Regions from separate parts of the Homo sapiens genome. Here region 2 is linked to region 1. Evidence: promoter capture Hi-C in 16 types of primary human blood cells and fetal thymus (Javierre and others, 2016). All regions are on one chromosome and are shown on one strand. The core of a region is centred on a gene start or on the middle of the fragment in contact, and the rest is flanking DNA. Distances in the headings are between cores, read along the strand shown.

The links. Contacts are between HindIII fragments. The CHiCAGO score rates a contact against its expected background, and 5 or more counts as called.
Region 2: a fragment that was not itself captured here is called in contact with the fragment with the promoter of HEMK2 in region 1 in 1 of 17 cell types (non-activated CD4 T cells); the score reaches 5.1 in non-activated CD4 T cells.

The regions. Positions count from the first base shown.
Region 1 is chr21:28,883,781-28,886,952 of GRCh38, forward strand. It overlaps HEMK2 (HemK methyltransferase 2, ETF1 glutamine and histone H4 lysine), which reads right to left and starts at 1,587. Exons shown (of 6, transcript NM_013240.6): 1 at 1,432-1,587. The coding sequence starts at 1,565. RefSeq lists enhancers at 886-1,445, 1,441-1,500, 1,446-2,004. The HindIII fragment of the contact is 10,284 bases long and covers 1-1,962 here.
Region 2 is chr21:28,828,029-28,831,048 of GRCh38, forward strand. It overlaps a transcript of HEMK2 not described here. Among named protein-coding and RNA genes, the nearest start is that of HEMK2, 56 kb to the right of the region's middle. The HindIII fragment of the contact is 4,724 bases long and covers 1-3,020 here.

The sequences.
Region 1 (3,172 bases), core at 337-2,836:
GCCATCACAGCTCACTGCTGCCTTTAACTCCTGGGCTTGCTCAAGTGATCCTCCCACCTCAGCCTCCCAAGTAGTTAGGACTATAGGCACGAACCACAGTGCCAGCCCTCTATAATGTTATACATGCATCAAAAGCATAAATCATCCCCATTAAAAAGATCAGCTTGATGGCATTTAGGGAAATTTTTAGCACTGAACTCCCAAAACAACTACCCAGTGACAAGCTCCAGAGGTTTTAAACTTTTGGAACCAGTCTACACATCTGACAAGTCTTTATTAGGTGGTAGTAAGGTCTGAGAATCTCACCAGGTGGCTTCTCTTTGAAAATAACTATCATGGTCTCATAAATAATTAGAATTCCAAACTAGAAATAACCCAAGACTTTATAACAAAATCAGCTCCTTTTACAGCATACTTTGCAGTGCAATTTGTGCTTGTAAATCTTTCTGGGCTATCTTGAGAAGAAAAGACAAGTTATAAAACAGTACTGTTCCACTGTATATTCCAGTAGATCCAAAAGTTCCATCATCTACAATGAAAGACTAGTTTAATAAGAGCTGGGACATTTTATACTGGAGAAATATGACCAAGTTTAAGAGGGATAAATAAATACAATATAGATCTTTGAAACCTGAAAGCTGTTTGTTCCATCCTGAGAAAACCCAGTTCATCTTATCTTCAAACAAATCTAACAACCCAAATTCCTTACATTTAAAAATCACAATGTCAGTATTCATTCCTTCTGCTATTAATTTAAAATTGATGGCGATCACTTCAATAAATCCATTTAAATAAAGTGCTAGGGTAGACTATTGTCTGCTAGCTGCATGTAACTTTTTTTTGGTAACAATTAAATGAAAAATTCAGTTCCTCAATAGCACTAGCCACATTTCAAGCGCTCTGTAGCCACATGTGAGGACTGGCTGGTGCTAGAGTATGCTATTCAGTGGGTTTAAAAATATTTCCCCACTCCAGTAACACAACTTTCTTTCATGTTTGTTAAGGGTGCTTTCTATGTGCTGAGTAAATCAAATAATACCATGCAATTTTAATATGTAATACTTTAAAAATATTAATAAGCAATGTTTCCGGAATATTTTGTTTCCAAACGTGTTATACTATCGCTTCTCTCAGGGACATGTGTTCTTCAGATTAACAGGCGACAGGAAAAGATACGCCTTTGCATGGTAAGCAGTCAGGGAGCTCATGAGACAGAGCAGCCCCCTGGCAAAGGAGATGCGTCCCCGGCACACTCATTACTTGTAGCTACAGGAAAATTCTCAATTACGGCGTCCTGGCTGTCAATCATCTGCAAGTGGACCCCGCCTGCTCCGGCTCAGGGCGGTGATAGTCACCGTTCCGGCCCTCCTCCACCGCACTTCTTCAGAAAGCCGCAACCCTTTCCCGTCAGAGCCCCTCCCCTCCTCGCACCCTGCCAGTTCGGCAGCCGCTGCCTCCAGCGCGTCCAAAAGCAGAAACGTGTCCTCCGCGGGCTCGTACACGTCGCTGAAGGCGCCGCGGCCCACGTGCCCGTGGAACGGCGTAGCGAAGTTCTCCCCTGCCATAGTCCTTCGCTGCGTTCCATGCGCGTGCGCAGGGCGTGCGCATGCGCATGCGCATGCCCTCACCCTCATGCGCAGGCCTAGGAGTGGGGCTGGCGTCCCGGGCGACCAGTGTGTTGTTGTTGGGTCTTAATTCTAAATTTGTCAGTGGCTCTCCTTGAAATTGCTAAGTAGACAGTTGTATAATCCGTGACTATTGACATTTGCTTTCTTCTTTGGAACATTTAAATTTTATTCTGTGAACTAGAACCTGATAGTGGGCATTCTGAGTTGTTTTTGACTAAGGTGAATGTTCTTTCTTCATTCTAATGATATTTGGAAATTCTGTTTTATTCCTAGTTTGCAAGGATTTGAAAAAATACATAATAAATTTTACTGTTTTTTTGTCAGCTGAACTTTAAGCTTTACGCTATAAAGATGAAGACTTTCCTCGTTTTTTTACTGTACTTTATAAATTGCCTTCCTGATGAATCATGAATGCACTCTTTTTATAAACCTTAAGCAAGATGATGCGGTTTAATACACTGCTGAATTGGGGAGGCTAATAATCTGGCTCCGTTTTTTTTTACCAAGATTACGCTACCCTCGTTATGTGAGTTAGGACACTGTTTCTGGAACATTAGGTAGAAAGCCTTAAAACTGGCTGGGCTTGGTGCCTTTTTGAGTGAATGGATCTTTGATGTTTTGGAACATCTGTAAGTTATTAGACTATTCAAGTATTTGCATTCTTTTTGAGTCAATTTCTGAAATTTGTTTCGCAATGAAACATTTTTACAGCTCGTTTTTTAAATTTGAGAAATAAAAATACAGAAAAGTATTTGAGGTACAAATTTTATTTTATTTTATTTCTACTTATGTATTTTTTTTTTTTGGAGACAGAGTCTCGCTGTATCCCCCAGGCTGGAGTGCAGTGGCGCGAGCTAGGCTCACTGCAACCTCTGCCTCCCAGGTTCAAGCGGTTCTCCTGCCTCAGCCTCCGGAGTAGCTGGGATTACAGGCGCCTGCAGCCACGGCTGCCTAATTTTTGTATTTTTAGTAGAGACGGATTTTCCCCATGTTGGCCAGGCTGGTCTCAAACTGCTGACTTCAGGTGATCCACCCGCCTTGGGCTCTCAAAGTGCTGAGATTACAGGTGTGAGCCTTTAACGCACCCGGCTGGGTTACAAATTTCAAAACCCCAAGTTTTAAACCCAGAAATGACAGTATTTTCTCATGTTTCCTTAAAATATTTTTTAAATACAAGAACTAAAATATTACAAATAAGATGGATGTTCTTTCTCTATTTGCCTTCAGTTTAATTGTGTAACATTCTCTCCAAGGCTCTTATGGATTTAGTGTATGTCCATCTAATCCATGTAAAAACATGGATCTTGTATTTATACGTTTATAAACATTCATATCTTTATAAGCAACATACGGTGTATTTTAAAATTTACATAACTGGTACTAGGTTGGACATATTTTTCAAATTTCTTTTTCAGTCAACATTATATGAGATTTATGTTTTGATATATGGTTAGGTTACTCCTCTTAACTGCCATATAGAATTTTATTATGTAAAAATATGAAAAATATATATATATAGAAAGAGTTGTACTTGATCTCCTGGG
Region 2 (3,020 bases), core at 442-2,941, 56 kb before region 1:
ACCCCTTGTAGCTTAGGCTACAAGTCCTCCACTAGCATAGGCTTTTCTAAGGTTCCAGAAAGGGTTCTTAGAAACATGTTTGCATGTTCATACATTTTCTTATCTATTTTTGAAAGAGTATTTCGAAACTGATATAAGCGTAAGACCCACAAAGCCTGCAGACTACAGGTGATGGAAACAGGATTTGTGTGCAGATGTGCCCAACTCCAAGGGTTTAAAACCCCGTGACACAGTAAGTAAGGAGGAAGGGGTGGAGCAGTGGGATTTAGATGCACATGTTGGGCTTATCATGAGAGATTTCAAGCTAAGGAAAGAGGGGAGTTGATTTGAGGGGCTTTTCTCCTCTAAAGTGACCTTGAAGCCCTCATTTTAATGCTTCATGTGCCAACAAGAAGTAGAGAATGTAGGTAACTCTAATACGAATGAGGCTCTAAGAACTACTAGGTGAACACTCATAATAGTGGCACCAGTTCCGAACAACACATTTGTAAATAAATTGAAGCAGCCTTCAGTTTTTTCTAAACTAAGAAGCTACTAGACACTAAGCAGGTCAAACAGACCAAAGGCACTTTGGTGACACTTAGCTTAGGTAGCCCTTCGACTGCCAATCCATCATTATCTGAAAGTTCTGCATTGACCAACTGCTGTCAGAAAATGTTCCCTTTCTTCCAGAAATTCCATGCCAGCTCACCTTCCAAAAGTTTCCAGTGGGCTTGTTGATCTTTCACCCAAATAGCCACCTAACACTTTACGAATATCCATCTCTGTGAAGAAACCGACTCAGCTGCAACAACCTGTTTTTTTTAATTCATTAAGCCTTAGAATAGCATCTTTCTTAGTAAAATATAAATGCAATATTTAATAAAACTATATATACAGTGATTATTATAAGCAGGGAGAGGACAGGCTGAAAATGAGTGATTTTAACAAGAGCTTTAACAATTTTTAATAGACCTGCATTCCTTTACATTCCTGGTGTTTCTCAAACTTTAGTGGGTTTAAAGTTCATCTGGGGATTTATAAAAATTGCTGACTTCAAGAGCTCCTCTTAAAATTTCTAATTCTGAAGGCCTGGAGGGATCCTCAACAATCTTCATTTTTAACGATTTTGATGAAGATGGACTGCAGCTGTCTCTTGAGAAATGCTTCTTTAGAACAAGTGAAATTGCTAATTACACAGTAAGCACTTAGTCATCTACCATTACCCAAGTCTTGTTAGTTGTGAGTTGCCCCTTGGTATCTGCTAAGGTTTGAATGTGTCCCTCAGAAAGCATATGTTGGAAACTTAACCTTTAATGCAACAGTGTTTGTTGGGAGGTAGGTTCCAATGAGAGGTAATTAGAACATGAGGGCTCTGCATTTATGAATAGATGAATGTGTGGAAGTAGGTTCCTTATAAAATAAGGTCAGTCACCTTTCCTCTCTCCCATCCTCTTTTTGCCCTCTGACATCCTATGCCTTTCACCATGAGATGACACAGCAAGAAGGTCCCTGATAGATACCAGTGCTTCAATCTTGGACTTCCCAACTAAAGAACTATGAACCAATAAATTTCTGTTCATTACAAATTATCCAGTCTCAGGTATTCTGTTACAGCTGCACAAAACAGACTAAGGCAGTATCCCATTCTCAGCTGCAGCAATTCTTTTTAAGACAAAACTCCATGGATTTTAAGACATCTGAGTAGGGAGAGTTAATTATGTCCTCTCAAAGAGGTATTTTCCCTAGACCAATTAGTTTACAAGAACATACACTCTGTTTCTAAAACTTTGGAAAACAAAGATGTGGTTCATATCAGAGTGAAAATTTCATTGATACCCATTATAATGAACGTGTTTCATTTTGGCAAACTGTCATGAAATGTCCTGTTCATTTGGAGAAAATTCCTGGAAAGATGGTAGGCAGAGGTCCCAACTCCCAATACGGAATCCTAAGAGGGAGAAGATCTGTCTGCTCCCAGTCAGAGAAGGGTGGGCTCTTCCTACACTAAGATCTTAGCCACATTTTGTCTCCCTGAATTCTTGCCAGAGACTAGTCCTCCAGGCTGAGAGTATATCTTATATCTGTATAATTAGATAACAATTATGTTATCTAAAACTGAGAACCCTGGGTATGGTACATCCAGACACTTACGGCAGAAAATATTTGATATGGTTTGGCTCTGTGTCCCCACTCAAATCTCATGTCAAACTGTAATTCCCAATGTTGGGGGAGGGATCTGGTGGGAGGTAATTGGATCATGGGGGCAGATTTCTCCCTTGCTCTTGCGATAGTAAGTTCTCACGAGATCTGATAAATGTTTAAAGGTGTGTGGCACTTCCCCCCCTTCACTCTCTCTCTCTTTCTACCATGGTGAGACGTGCTTGCTTCCCCTTCACCTTCTGCCATGACGGTAAGTTTCCTGAGACCTTCCAGCCATGCTTCCTGTACAGCCTATGGAACTGTGAGTCAATTAAACCTCTTTCTTCATAAATTATCCAGGTCAGGTAGTTCTTTATAGCAGTGTGAGAACAGACTCTACAATATCTTCAAAATGTTGTTTATTTTTTAAAAAAATGTATGGATGGAGGCCAGGCGCGTGGCTCACGCCTGTAATCCCAGCACTTTGGGAGACCAAGGTGGGCAGATCATGAGGTCAAGAGATCAAGACCATTCTGGCTAACATGGTGAAACACTGTCTCTACTAAAAATACAAAAAATTAGCCGGGCATGGTGGCAGGCGCATGCAATCCCAGCTACTTGGGAGGCTGAGGCAGGAGAATCGCTTGAACCCAGGAGGAGGAAGTTGCAGTGAGCCAAGTTCGTGCCACTGCACTCCAGCCTGGGTGACAGAGCAAGACTCCATCTTTAAAAAAAAAAAAAAAAAAGAATGGTATCAGAAAGAATAGAAGGTGAAAGGAAGAAAGGAAATGGAAAATTAGTATTCTATCCATCTGTAGAAAATTTTTTAAAATATGTATTGTCTTTTATTCTGATTTCTTCTGGATTCCACTTTGTAGATTTATGAGCCCAGGACCACT